Linked DNA regions of Homo sapiens: all the other regions are linked to region 5. The links are contacts of gene promoters, found by promoter capture Hi-C in blood cells and fetal thymus (Javierre and others, 2016). All regions are on one chromosome and are shown on one strand. The core of a region is centred on a gene start or on the middle of the fragment in contact, and the rest is flanking DNA. Distances in the headings are between cores, read along the strand shown.

The links. Contacts are between HindIII fragments. The CHiCAGO score rates a contact against its expected background, and 5 or more counts as called.
Region 1: a contact is called between the fragment with the promoter of RIPPLY2 here and the fragment with the promoter of PHIP in region 5, in 1 of 17 cell types (total CD8 T cells). The highest score is 5.4, in total CD8 T cells.
Region 2: a fragment that was not itself captured here is called in contact with the fragment with the promoter of PHIP in region 5 in 1 of 17 cell types (neutrophils); the score reaches 6.0 in neutrophils.
Region 3: a contact is called between the fragment with the promoter of PGM3 here and the fragment with the promoter of PHIP in region 5, in 1 of 17 cell types (non-activated CD4 T cells). The highest score is 5.5, in non-activated CD4 T cells.
Region 4: a fragment that was not itself captured here is called in contact with the fragment with the promoter of PHIP in region 5 in 1 of 17 cell types (total B cells); the score reaches 5.3 in total B cells.

What each region holds. Positions count from the first base shown.
Region 1 is chr6:83,851,965-83,854,686 of GRCh38, forward strand. RIPPLY2 (ripply transcriptional repressor 2) reads left to right here and starts at 1,396. Exons shown (of 4, transcript NM_001009994.3): 1 at 1,396-1,547; 2 at 1,731-1,809; 3 at 2,133-2,197. The coding sequence starts at 1,453. It overlaps RIPPLY2-CYB5R4 (RIPPLY2-CYB5R4 readthrough), which reads left to right and starts at 1,396. Exons shown (of 18, transcript NR_174604.1): 1 at 1,396-1,547; 2 at 1,731-1,809; 3 at 2,133-2,197. The HindIII fragment of the contact is 2,033 bases long and covers 137-2,169 here.
Region 2 is chr6:83,869,971-83,872,670 of GRCh38, forward strand. The region is part of intron 4 of RIPPLY2-CYB5R4 (RIPPLY2-CYB5R4 readthrough); the gene reads left to right. All of the region lies in intron 2 of CYB5R4 (cytochrome b5 reductase 4), which reads left to right. Among named protein-coding and RNA genes, the nearest start is that of CYB5R4, 12 kb to the left of the region's middle. RefSeq lists a silencer at 720-1,014. The HindIII fragment of the contact is 2,014 bases long and covers 413-2,426 here.
Region 3 is chr6:83,191,933-83,194,632 of GRCh38, forward strand. PGM3 (phosphoglucomutase 3) reads right to left here and starts at 1,333. Exons shown (of 13, transcript NM_015599.3): 1 at 1,247-1,333. It overlaps RWDD2A (RWD domain containing 2A), which reads left to right and starts at 1,425. Exons shown (of 3, transcript NM_033411.5): 1 at 1,425-1,511; 2 at 2,380-2,700. The coding sequence starts at 2,520. RefSeq lists silencers at 984-1,053, 1,354-1,723 and an enhancer at 1,296-1,795. The HindIII fragment of the contact is 15,181 bases long and covers 1-2,700 here.
Region 4 is chr6:83,062,147-83,064,846 of GRCh38, forward strand. The region is part of intron 1 of UBE3D (ubiquitin protein ligase E3D); the gene reads right to left. Among named protein-coding and RNA genes, the nearest start is that of UBE3D, 2.3 kb to the right of the region's middle. The HindIII fragment of the contact is 3,859 bases long and covers 1-2,700 here.
Region 5 is chr6:79,076,977-79,079,676 of GRCh38, forward strand. PHIP (PHIP subunit of CUL4-Ring ligase complex) reads right to left here and starts at 1,278. Exons shown (of 40, transcript NM_017934.7): 1 at 1,053-1,278; 2 at 879-937; 3 at 724-753; 4 at 472-531. The coding sequence starts at 1,092. LOC124901346 (a long non-coding RNA gene) reads left to right here. Exons shown (of 2, transcript XR_007059652.1): 2 at 1-290. RefSeq lists silencers at 1-496, 996-1,165, 1,296-1,535 and an enhancer at 1,656-1,705. The HindIII fragment of the contact is 4,735 bases long and covers 1-2,203 here.

The sequences.
Region 1 (2,722 bases), core at 146-2,645, 4.8 Mb after region 5:
GTTTACATTATGGAACTGAAATAATAAGCCATTTTATCAGAAAGGTTAACATCTGTTAAGGCCTTATATTTTTTTACGTAGCTTAAAATCTGTTGAAGGCTTACTATATGCCAGGCACTGCAAAACGCATTTTATAAGCTTTATTTTATTTAGCCTAACAATAACTGTAGGGGATGCAGACATGCATTAGGTATCTATCCTTACTGATTTTCTTATCAGAAGCAACCCAAATCTCACCTTCCTGGCAGGTAGATCATTATAGGCTCTTAGCTACTATTAATAATTAAATTATTTTCCTATGCAGTAGCTGAATGAATAGCAGAGACAACTATAGTTTACAATCAAGATTTTTGTCTAAACTTTTAAGAGAAAGTCCAGTTTTATTATTTAAAACATTTTGAAAAAAATTATAACATTTATATATCATCTTTTCCTCGATGCATAACACTTTTTACAAAGTTTAGTGGTAGATAAGTGAGGGGTAACTCAAATCAGAGAAACAGGGGTGCAGACGTTTGATTAACTTGTCTCATATCATAACTTTTCAAGATTTCATTATCATTCCACAACACTGCCCTCAAAAAAGAATTTTGTAATTACCATTGAGTGACAAAATACCAAGTAGTGACAGAGGTGTATAGACGAACTCAAAAGTTATTGTAGGAGGACACTGATAAAATGTTGGGGAAAATCACAAAAGACACGAGAAGATAATTTAGAGCTCTATGCCCAAATCACATGACTCCAGTCTCTGGCTCTCTTAGCCAGAACAGCGAATCTTTTACAATTTACCTCTTGTTGCCAATAATTTTCTATTATCTTCAAATAATAATAGGCTGGAGTATGAACCTAGTTTATCAATACTTTTTTAAAAAACCGACATTCCTCTCTTAAGGAGTCCATGCATTCTCCCCATTTTTTAGAAAATTGTTCCATGAAGAGGAATTAAGTTTATTCCTTTGAATTCTAGTCTGCATCCCAGCTTTTAGAACACGGGATGCAGAACCAGTTGATTTGCCACAGGCCAAGTCCTGAGTCTCCAGCGAATCAAGCAATTAACCAGTCACTTGGCCTTTTTGCAGAAATCCACAAAACGTGTAGACTCGCTTAATTCCATCTCCTCCTGGCCTCTTCACACGGAAATTGGCTGCTCGGGCGAATGTTGTTTTTCTCCGCAGCCATGTGTCGAAGGGCGATTAACATTCGCTCGACAAAACCCTGTCCCGGGCCATTTGGGAGTTGCACGCGTTCACACCCGGGGCTCAGCCCGGTGCGCCTTCACGCGCAGCCTTTTTGTTTATGCGGCTAGCAGGGAGAGGGGCGGAGAGGCAGCGAACCTCTCAATGTGCAGCAGGCCGCGAGGGCTATATAAAGCTCGGGTCTCGGACCTACTGGAACTGGTCAAGATTGCCCGCGAGCTGGCAGCGGCCTTCCGCCCAGCTCTGCGGCGTCATGGAGAACGCGGGAGGCGCAGAGGGTACAGAGAGTGGAGCTGCGGCGTGCGCGGCCACCGACGGCCCTACGCGGCGCGCGGGCGCGGACTCCGGGTAGGCTTCCCCGCGCTGCTCTGCGCCTCCCAGCTTCCCCCGTCTCTCCCTCCTGCGCCTCCCCAGCTCCTCCCCTCCAACTCTCCATCCCCCACTGCCCGGTGCCAGCGCTCGGCTTCGGTGGATTCTCCCGGGTCTGGGCTCACGTCTCCTCTGCGCGCCTTGTGCTCCCCTATCCCGCAGATACGCAGGCTTCTGGAGACCCTGGGTGGACGCCGGAGGCAAGAAAGAAGAGGAGACGCCGAACCACGCCGCGGAGGCGGTGAGTGAGCCACGCGTCTCAGGCCGCGCCTCCCACGGGTGCAGAAGATCGACCAGGGCTCTCGGGACGCAGGGCCTGAGAGAGACATGCGAGACACCGGGTCCTGCCTCTCGCTTAACATCCCGCCTGCCGGTGGCCATAAAGGTGCCGACGCGGCGGATGTGTCCTCTGGAGCGATGGGCCACAGGCACCCAGCCGGGAGCGAGGCTGCTGAGAGCCCTGGGGTTACATTCCCAGCGGGCACGAGGAACACTGGGTCGTGCACGTTTCCACTTTCTAGAAGGAGGTGGGTGATAACTGGATTCACTTCCTTTCCTCTCCAGATGCCCGATGGCCCTGGAATGACCGCAGCCTCAGGAAAGCTTTACCAATTCAGGCACCCAGTCAGGTGAGTGACAGGCCTCGCCGAAGGTCTCCCGCTCCTCCAGCCCCAGGGAGGAGCCAGGGGCATCGCGCAGCCCAGCTCCGCAGCTGGTCCTGCAGTCTCTCTCTCTCTCTCTGAAAATCTGGCTTCAAGGTTACTTATCTTCTCACTCATCAAATTGAAAAAGGTAGGGGCTCACGGTCCCACGTAAAGGGACTGTTGATGAATACATACTCAGTGAACTTGATGAATATATTACGAAGAGGGAAAGGGGATGATATGGTAAGAGAGCGGTGACATCTTGTGCTGGCAAAACAGTTTTTATTTTTAAATCCTAAAGGGTTCGAATGAAATTGACTTCGCATCAGGCAGAGTGTGTATGCTGCTTTTGTCTTGCAATCTGGAAGGAAGAATGGGATTAACAGTTACAGTCTTACAAGTTTGCCGAGTAGGAAAAAATAGAAATGTAATGAAAATCCTAAAGATTATTGAGAATGGTTATAGAAAGGGTCAAAAGTTTATTTAACTTGCGGAGCTAGTTTACTGTTC
Region 2 (2,700 bases), core at 170-2,669, 4.8 Mb after region 5:
GGAGAAAATATATGTCAGATAGGTTTCATTCAGACCTGAGTTATAGTGAGTTACAGCTGTTGTCTGTGAGTTCAATGTTCATGAATCAACAATATATATTAAAGAAGGTGTCTTTAAACAGCAACACACATTAAACAAGTTTATGTATTGATTGGTTGACAAACATGTTGTCATTATAGGCTCATAGGAACCCAACTTTGTATTTTTTACTAGTAGCAATGGGTCAGTATTCGCTAATTCAGTGTTTGCAGCATACAGGAACCCAACTTTGTGTTTTTTCCAAGGAGCAATGGGTCAGTATTTACTAATTCAGTGTTTGCAGCAATTTTATGGAAATGATTGCTATGAACAAGGATAACCAACTATATTTCTTTAGATTATCTTTTATTTATACTTCAGTAATGATAACGAAAGCTTTGTACTTTTTGGGTTAAATTCAGACCCACCAAAAATAGAGCTGATTTATCTAACCGTTTTTTTTTTTTTCCTAGGTTTCCTTAGCTCCTTGGTTCATTTCTGTTTTCAGAAACTGCAGTGTTATTTGTCCATAGCAGGGAAATTTTTCTACCTGCTCTTTTAGGAGCAGTTTTTCAAATTTGGAACTAATGTTTTAATTTGTAATAGAACATATTAACCCAGTAATATACTATCTAAATAATAATATATTATTATTACAGTTAGTTCAACCATTCTGTAGTTTACTTTGTGTACTATCATCATTACTTTCTTGGCAGATTTTTGAACAACTCTCTTCTTCCATTTTCTTGTTTAGGTTAGATTAAAACCCACTGTATTTGTAACCTCAAACTCAGTACTCACAGTGCTTTTAGACATTCAAAGACACGCAGAGAGCAGTGAAAAAATCTTTGTTGCCCAACATGCAGGTTCCTAGCTGAGGTCAAAGAAGGCAGTGTTCTCCCTTGAATACAAATCAACAATGTTCTGCCTGGAAGAAAATCAACATTATTTTAGTGGTACATGTCCCTTCTTTCATTGTTTGCTTTTTTTTTTTTTTTTTTTTTTGCGATGGAGTTTCACTCTTGTCACCCAGGCTGGAGTGCAATGGCACGATCTCGGCTCACTGCAACCTCCGTCTCCCGGGTTCAAGCGAGTCTCCTGCCCCAGCCTCTTGAGTAGCTGGGATTATAGGCGCCTGCAGCCATGCCCGGCTAATTTTTTTGTATTTTTAGTAGAGATGGGGGTTTCACCATGTTGGCCAGGCTGGTCTGGAACTCCTGATCGCAGGTGATCCACAGCCTTGGCCTCCCAGACTGCTGGGATTACAGGTGTGAGCCACCACACCTGGCCTGTTCATTGAATTCTAACCTAACCCATAGATTTTTCAAGTTGCCTTATTTCACATGATTATGCAAATAATCTAGTCTTTGTCGATTGTATTAATTCCTGTCTTACTAACATCTAAGATTATTTGCTTTCTCTTACTTTTACCCTGTCTTTATCTCCTAAATTGTCATTCACTCTTTTCCTTCTCCTCCTTTTTTTCACTTTTTCTCTCTCTGTACTTCTCTCCCATTCATTAAAAATTTAGTGGAGAGGAAAAACTGCTGATCTGAGGGCCTTATCTAACCCTCAGGTGTTCTGTTTGGTTGACACAGTGGTTTAGAAATTGCAGCCAACATTCTGAAATTTTCTTTGTGGGAAAGTTTTTCTTTTTTATTACAAATTTAATTTTAAAAAAGGATATAGGGCTATTTAAATTTTCTCTTTACTTTTGTGTCAGTTTTAGTTGTGTTTTTCAATGAATTCATTAATTTTATCTCATTTAATATATTGGCATATAGTTATTTGTAATATTCCCTTTTTATTTCTTTAATGTCTTTAAGTTCTATGATATACCCTATATATCCTTTTTCATTCCTGGTGTTGCTAATTTTTTCTCTCTTTTTTTTCTTGATCAGTCTTACTAGAAGTTTATCAATTTTATTAACATTTTGAATAAACTAATTTTGGTTTGTATTTTCTCTGTTGCTTCTTTTCTGTTACATTGTTTGTTGTTTCATTACTTGTTGTTTTCTATTTTGTTACTTTTATTAGTGATATAGCTAGTTTAAGATTTTTTTTCTTCAGCATTTGCATCCTTATATTTCTAGAGATAGTCTGCAGTAACTCTCATTATATTCCTGGTTATTGCCTGAATTACTTGATAGTGGCAATTTTTACTCCTATTTATGGTTTGGCTGTTGCCATTATCTTTTTGCACATTCAGATGTATTACCCAGTCACATAATTCTCAGGTTTAAATTAAAACCTCATATATAGTTAAATATTCTTTTTAGAAAGTGCTTCCTTTTTTTAAGTACCCTAGCAGGGTTATTGATGTGTCAGTTATATGCTATGTGCTAAGTGTTAATTTTCACAACAGACCAATGAGGTAGGTCCTCCATTTCACAGATTGAGGGTACTGAAGCTTAGAGAATCCGCATTTACCAAATAAGAAAACTGAAGCTGATAAAATCTATTAGTGGGGAGTCATAGATGTAAATGATAGAAAACTATTTTGGCTTAAGCAGAAGCAAAAAGTTACTAAAAAGTTAGAGGTGAGGATTGATGCAGGGGCTCAGACCAAGTCCCCAGGACCTGCTTTCACATTATCTTTTGGTTTCCCTTCTGAGATCACTGTGTTTTAGGATTAACGCTAAGTTCATAGCCTGAAGATGATCACAGAAACTTCAACCCTAG
Region 3 (2,700 bases), core at 83-2,582, 4.1 Mb after region 5:
TGGGTGACAAAGGGAGACTCGGTCTCAAAAAAAAAAAAAAAAAAAAAAAACAGGCCAGGTGAGGTGGCTCAGGCCTGTAATCCCGGCATTTTGGGAGGCCAAGGCGGGCGGATCACGAGGTCAGGAATTCAAGACCAGCCTGACCAACATGGTGAGACCCTTGTCTCTACTAAAAATACAAAAAGTAGCCTGGCGTGGTGGTGCGCGCCTGTAGTCCCAGCTACTCAGGAGGCTGACGCAGGAGAATCGCTTGAACCCGCGGGTGGAGGTCGCAGTGAGCCGAGATCGCGCCACTGCACTCCAGGCTGGGCGACAGGGTGAGACTCCGTCTCAAAACAAACAACAACAAAAAATCGGCCCTTAGCCCACTAATACTGTTTTCTCTGGGATACTCCCATTAAGTGGAACTTGGGGTTTCCAACCTCAGTCAGTAGTTTTCCTTCAGTAGTCCATATACTACATTTCCTGGGTCAATTAATTCCCAATTAGCCCAGAGATGAGGAGCAGTCCGCCAGCTGCTAGCCTCATAATTTTGTTTTCTTTATTGTCCTTCATTGCTTCAATGAACAGAACTTGCAAGAAATGGTGAAAAATACTTGCTTTTGTCCAGTTGGAAAAAGCTGGCATTCAGTAAACTAATTTAGTTCAAGACAGTGATCAGATCTCTTTCCTAAGGATGAATACATATTTGTAAAAACTGAGCAGTCAGTTATGTGTCATGATTATTCATAAGAGTGTAAACCAGTCCTGTTAACTCCAAAAAGCCATTAAAAAAAAAAAGGTCCAGATAATATGAGTTCATCCTTTCATGCGTTTTAGGCCCTACAACTACTTTCAATGCCTCTGCGAATGCCTTTATTGAAAGCATATTTGCCAAATCCAGCGTCCACGCAAAAAGTTAAGAGTATCCCCCTACTCTCCATTCAATCTTCAAATCTCCTTGGTGCCTCTCTCCCGCCTACCCTCGAATCACCGCACAAGGGTGATTCCCGGCACTCCACCCTGAGGTCCCCGCCTAGGTCCACGTACCAGAGCCCCGGCAGGAGACCCGCGGCCCGTCCCGACCAGCCCGCCCGCGGGGCGCAGGGGCCTGTAGGTGTGTCCCGCGCGCTCCGCCGCTCGGTCAGTCGCCCGCCAGACCACTAGCCCCTCCGTCGGGCCGAGAATCTGACCTGTCCCGCTCCCACCGAGCCCTTGCCGACCGGTAGTCTCCCTTCTCAACTCCGAGCCTCGGGGCCCGGCTTACCTCGGTCAGGAAGCCCCCTTCACCTACACGCAGCGGAGAAGCGCCCAAGCAACAACGTCTGCACCCAAACCCAGTCCTCAGAACCGCAGACGTGGCCCTGCGTGGCTTCCGGCTCGTCGCCACGCCCCCTGGCCAATCACGGCAGAGGACTATCCGCCAGCCCCGCCCCCGCCTCGCCGCAGGTCGCGCGCAGCTGGCGCCTGAGGAACTGCGGCTGCGGTTCCGAGCGGGGTCTGGGGCTGTTACCATTGAGTGACCAGAAAGGGTGAGGCCCCCGCGGTGGCCCGGGGGTTGGGGCCGAGGGTCGCGGGCCCTCAGAGCACTGCGGCCGCGGAGGCACAGCCTCCGCCTCCAAATCCGGGCCTCTGGGGGCGGCAGGCCCTGCGTTCCTGGGAAGCCGGGGTTCCTAGTGGTCTTGGCTAGGGGCGGGGGTGGGGAATCAGCCCCGTCGCTGGGCCTCGGACAGGGCGACCTCGCCCACAGTGAGCGCCGCCGGCGGCCCGCATCCCCCTCTCCGACGTCGAGGTCATCTCCCAAACCTTTGAATCTGGGAAGCCTTCTCCGGCTGCCGTCTCCCCGGGTACCCCCTTCCCCCAGCTCACTGTAAACATCTTTTATTTAATGACCTCTGAGACACCCCCTACCCTTATCCTGGGTCCCTCGGGGCAGAGGCCAGTGAATCGTAAACGTCCGGAGCCCTGGAATGCGGCCCAAGCGAAAAGGCCACCGCGGTGTTGGGGGGGGGCGGTCCGCGAGTCCAGGACCGAGGGGTGGCGACTGGCGCTGGGGAACTCGGAGCCCATCCTGCTGGCACTGCGGCCTCTCTCGCCGCAGCGTCTGGCTCCGCCCAAGCCCGAGCCCCGGGTGGGATTGGAAGCCGGGCCCCAGCCTTTCCCAGAATTCAGGCTTGCAGAGCGTCTGCAGGTGTCTGCCTGCCACCTGCAGCGGGACAGTTCCAAACACCTGTTGAAAGTGCAGATTCCCCTATCTAGTGCGGGGTGCGGGAGGCGGGAACCCGGAGCCCGGGTACGCAGAATATGGGTTTTTACGGAGTGTTTTAGAGGATGTTGTGCATACTAGATTTTGGAGTCAGGAAATAAAGAAGAGTGCAAGTGTCTGGTTTGTGCCCCTAGCTCTCGGTGCAAAGCGTTCCTGCAGAATTGCTTCCACGTAAAGGGACCTTCGGGAAATTTCGCTGGATACCGGCTGGCATTGACAAACCCAGCGTCCCTGAGCCTTGTGAGGTTTCCAGGCAGGCTGATTGCGAGGCAACATGTCTGCTTCGGTGAAAGAAAGCCTTCAGCTTCAGCTACTGGAGATGGAAATGCTGTTTTCTATGTTTCCTAACCAAGGAGAAGTAAAACTTGAAGATGTAAATGCCCTGACGAATATAAAGAGGTATTTGGAAGGCACAAGGGAGGCGCTGCCACCAAAAATCGAATTTGTAATTACAC
Region 4 (2,700 bases), core at 171-2,670, 4.0 Mb after region 5:
GGTGTTTTTGTCTTTGCTGTTGTTACTGTTCATGGCTGTATTCTCAGCACTTAGAATTTGAATTTTTGGCACTAGAGTAAGAACACAATAAACATCTGTGGATTGAATAAATGAATGGCCAAAGTTTATCCCAAAATGCTAAGATATCTTAATATAAATAGATCTTTACATCTGTGAATGTAAACTTTGGAAGCCAGACTCTTTTTCACAACCCACTATGGCAGGAATTAATCCATTCCTGAGAGAGAACTCACCCAACCATCTCCATGGGAGGGCATTAATCTATTCAAGAAGAATCTGCCCTCAGGAACCACGCACCTCCCACTAGGCCCTATGTCTCAACACTGCCACATTGGGGATCAAAGTGAGAAAACATAGGGACAAAACACATCCAAACCATAGCAGTTAGGAACAAGAACACCAATATTTAAATTAACTATAAAATATACTAAACATTTTAATTAGAACACACAGATCATCAGAACAGATTTAAAATCACCCAACTATATATTTTTAAAACTAGCATACAGTTTTATGCTATTTTTAGGGAAATACAGTATTTTTACAGCTTTTTGCTTTATACAGAAAGACATAAGAAAGGTTAAAAAGGTAGAAAGGACACACTATGCAAACAGTATAGTCAACTGATTTCTCATGAAGACTGAGTTATTTTAATGGGAGAAATGATGGCCTTTTCAACTGATGGTGATAGAATAAATGAATATCCTTATACCAAAAAAAGAACTTTGATCCCTACTTCACTGCAAACACAAAAATGAATTCAACATGATCACAGATCAAAATGTGAAAGCTAAAACGATATAACTCCTAGAAAATAAACCTGCCAAAACATCTTCACAGCCTTAAGGTAGGCAAAGATTTAAGACACCAAAAAAACTAACCCTTAAGGAATAAAAAAACGATAGAGTGGACTTCATTAAAATTAAAATTTCTGTTCATCAAAGGACACTATCAAAAAAACGAGGCAGGGCATGGTGGCTCATACCTGTAATCCCAGCACTTTGGGAGTCCAAAGTGGGTGGATCGCTTGAGTCCAGGAGTTCAAGACCAGCATGGGCAATATGGTGAAACCCTATCTCTACAAAAAAATACAAAAATTAGCTGGGCATGGTGGCATGCAACTTGTATCCCAGCTACTCCAGAGGCTGAGGTGGGAGGATTGCTTGAGCCCAGGAGGTTGAGGCTGCAGTGAGCCATGATCACACCACTGCACTGTAGCCTGGGCAGTAGAGCAAGACGCTGTCTAAAAAAAAAAAAAAAAAAAAAAAAAGAAAAGAAAATGAAAAGTTAAGTCACAGATAAGAATAGTCATATATTCACAAGGCATTTATGTGAGAAAGCTCTTGTTTTGAGACAGTATAAAGAACTCTCAATTAAACAAGACAAATAATCTGATTATGGGCAAAAAAAATTAGAAGATACTTTTAAAAAGAACATATATGAATTGCTAAAAAGCAAGTGAAAAGGCACTCAACATTATTAGTCATCGGTAAAATGAAAATTAAAACCACAAGATACTATTTTACACACACTAGAATGGTTCAAACTAAAAGGACTGATAATACTAAATGTAAGTCAAAATGTAAAGTAGTTGAAACTCATTTTTTTTCTGGTTGAACGTGCAAACTGGTACAATCACTTTGGAGAACTGTTTGGCAATTTCTCACAAAGTAACATGCACATCTATCCTATGACCCAGAAATTTCACTCTTAGGTACTTACCTAAAAAGAAATGAAAATGTATGTCCAAAAAAAGATTTATACAACAGTGTTATGACAGCTGTATTCATAATAAGCAAACTCCAGAAACAAGAAAAACATCCAGCAATAGGAGAACAGATAAATGAATTGTGGTATATTCATACAATGGAAAACTTAGCAAGAAAAAGGAATGGACTACTGATATATGCAGCCACATAGATGGAACGTGAATCTGAAAAATATTATGGAAGGAATGCAGCCAGAAACAAAAAAGTATATATTGTATGAATCCATTTATAAGTAGTTCAAGAAATGGCAAAACTAAGTCCAGCAAAGTTAGGTTTCTTTTTTTTTCTTTTTATTTTTTATTTTTTGAGACGGAGTCTCTTTCTGTTGCCAGGCTGAACTGCAGTGGCGCGATCTCAGCTCACTGCAACCTCCGCCTCCCGGGTTCACTCCATTCTCCTGCCTCAGCCTCCTGAGTAGCTGGGACTGACTAAAGGTGCGCGCCACCACACCCAGCTAATTTTTGTATTTTTAGTAGAGACAGGGTTTCACCATGTTGGCCAGGATGGTCTTGATCTCTTGACCTCGTGATCCGCCCGCCTCAGCCTCCCAATGTGCTGGGATTACAGGCATGAGCCACCCGGGTACCTTGCCTAAACAAAGGAGAGTAGTCCAAGGGAACTGTGAAAGGCCCCTGCATGAGAGGAAGGGAGGGTTTGTTGTGTGTGTGTGGTTTTTGTTTTATTTTGGTAGGGTTTGGGTTCCTAATTACTCTACAAGGTGCACCAGAATTGGAGATATTTGTCCAAATTCATAAATTTTGAAAGAGAAAAAGAAATACATTCAGAGTACTATTATTCCCATTTCAAGATTGAAGAAATTCAGATTAAATTATTCTAATTTCGTGAGGAAGCTAGCATTTGAACTCAGTTCTCACGCCATATTCCAAATTGCCACACCAGATATCTGGCA
Region 5 (2,700 bases), core at 28-2,527:
TGAAATGCTAATGCCACTTCGGAGCAGTTAGTCACCAGCTATTGTGTAGGGCAGGAGAAAGCCGAGCCGGCCGCGCGTGCAGAGCGAGCAAGCGAACGAGCGAGCGCGCTCTCCCTCTTCGCGCCGCTCCCGCCGCCGCCGACTCTCGCGCGCCCCCGCGCCCGCACGGACGCGCGCGCCGGCCCCTCCTCCTCCGGCCTTGCACTGCACAACACTCATGACGTATCTTTATTTCTAGCACATTAACAAAATATCACAAATAAATTGTCCGCAGCCCCTGCGGCCCCGAAGTACGAGTACCCCCGGCCACTGGCCCCCGCAGACCCCGCGCCGGCCTCCCAACCCTCCCCATGGCCTTTGGAGCTTTCACGTTCTAGGGCCAAGTTTTTGTCTCTGTAAAAAATTGCGGGAAATTCAATTTTTATTCGACTCAGGGAAAAGTTTCTTTGCTCTGCGACGTGAATGTCTCACCAGATTCTGGTAGGTCCTGGGATGCTCCTTCCCGGTCCAGTCGGTGCGCCGGGGCAGCAGCTGCGGGGAGAGGACACCCCGTGAGCCCGGCCCCCGGCCCCTACCCGCCCGCTCCCCTCCCCCGCCCGCCCCGCGCCCCGGCGGGGACCCCGAGCCCCGCGCCCCGCGCCCTGCCGGCGGCGGCAGCGGCGGCGCAGCGGCCCAGAGGCGGCCGCGCGGCGGCGGGACGCGCCGGGCCGCCGCCGCCCTTACCTCCTTCTCGGCCACCTCGCGGATCAGCACCTGCAACAACAAAGCGGGGAGAGCTGAGCCCCGCGCCCCGGGCCGCGGCCCCGCCGCCGCCGCCTCCCTCCCCCACGCCCGCGAGCGGCGAGCGCCGGCCCGGCCCGCGCCGCGCGCCGCCGTACCTGAGCCGCCTGCTGACAGGGTCCATCTTCCAGGAACCGGGCGATGAGGAAGTAGAGCTCTGCGCGGGAGAGAGGGACGGGGAGACACACAGGCTGAGCGGTCGGGCGGCGGGGGGCGGGGGACCGCGGGCGGAATCGCCCGGTGCCAGCGGCCCCGGCAGCCCCCCGACTTACCCGATCGCAGCTCCGAGAGGCCTTTCCTCTCACAAGACATGTTTATGGGTCACTTCAGGGCCGCCGACGGGACACCCCGCCGCCGAGGGGAAGCGGGGACGGTGCCGCCGCCTGCCCTATAGCTGTCAGTGTGTGTTCACGAGCCGAGCTTCGGCTCCACCATTCAAGCAACGGCGGCGGAGGCGGAGGAGGAGGAGGAGGAAACAACAACTCTCAGGCAGCGACTACGGCCGTGGCCGCCTCCGCCGCGGATCCCTCCGCCGCAGAAAGGAGTCCGCCGCCTTCGCGGCCCAGGGCTCGGCCCCGGCTCTGGCCCGCGCCCCCGCCCCCCGGCGCTAAAAAAGGAGTGCCTCCGACCCCTCGTCCCCAGCGCTCCGCACGCGGCACAGTGAGACCCCCACCCGCTCCTCCCCGCAGGGCGTGCGATTTATTTATTTATTTCCAGTCGGAGAAGATGTCGGAGCCCAAGCCGCCGGTTGGCTGGAAGGCGCTTTCTCTGTGGAGGCCGATAGTGGCAGGGAGGGGGCCGGGGACGGTTCCGCGGAGGGATCTGACGCACACGGAGCCGCAGCACAGGCTCTATTCAGCGGCGCTGGCTGGAGCTGAGATGGAAGTTAGTTTCTATGTAGCAGAAATATGAAACAAATGAAGCAAAACTGCCCAGAGAGGGGAAATGCCCCAAGGATGGGTCTCACTCACGCGCGTACACAGACACACACGCAGAGAGCACTCTCACGCTGGGCAAGCTCGGGATCGCGCTACCCTTCCCGAGTTGAATGATAGTGTTTGGTTTCTGTCTCTTGCCATGTGCATGTGTATAAATGCTGCGGATTGGCATCTGTGTAAGTCTTGTCCTGCGTTATTTCTGCAGCCTATGCAAGTGTTGTGTAATTTATTGGAGTGCTGTATATTGCAATAGAGGTTTGGGCTGCTTTTTGTTAAGCACTTGCGTTTTGCAAACCCGTTATTTGCTGAAGCCACCTCTGCATATTTCTTTTATTACTGCCATTGCCTTTGGCGTACGTTTTTTAAATGTTTTTTATTGTTAAACGGGCAAAGCGAACTCTTGATTTGTACTTCAGATACTCTTTTTCCTTATTACAAAAAGGCTAGTGATGGCTAATTAGGTATTTGGAATTAAAGAACCTTAAAGCTTTTTTAAGTGTTTACGAGAAGGGAGAATGTAAACCTGAGGGAAAGGAAAGGACGCTAATATTCATGTCTAACTGATCTGGAGGTAATTTAGTGACAGATCGATAACCTGCCTAAGGATATTGAAAGAGTATACTACAGTTTAGCCAAGGTGAATAGTGATTAAATAATTTAAATAATCTGTGTATCTTGCAGTTGACTTCGTCATGCTAATTAATGGCTTCTAATTTGAGATGTAAACCATTCCTGTTTACAGTTAATCACGGGAAGACTTCTTGAAAACTGACGAAAAGGAGAAAAAAAAATCTTTCGTAAATTAGTATGTAATTACCGATTTTATATGCTAAATCATACATCTGTGTTTTGCTGATGAGGATAAGGGCCTTGTTTTTAAAAAAACGAATATGGGTGAAATTAATGGAAACAATAGAAAAAGCCATTTGTTAGAAAACAAGGACACCAAATGATATTTATCTCCAGATGATTTAAGCACTTT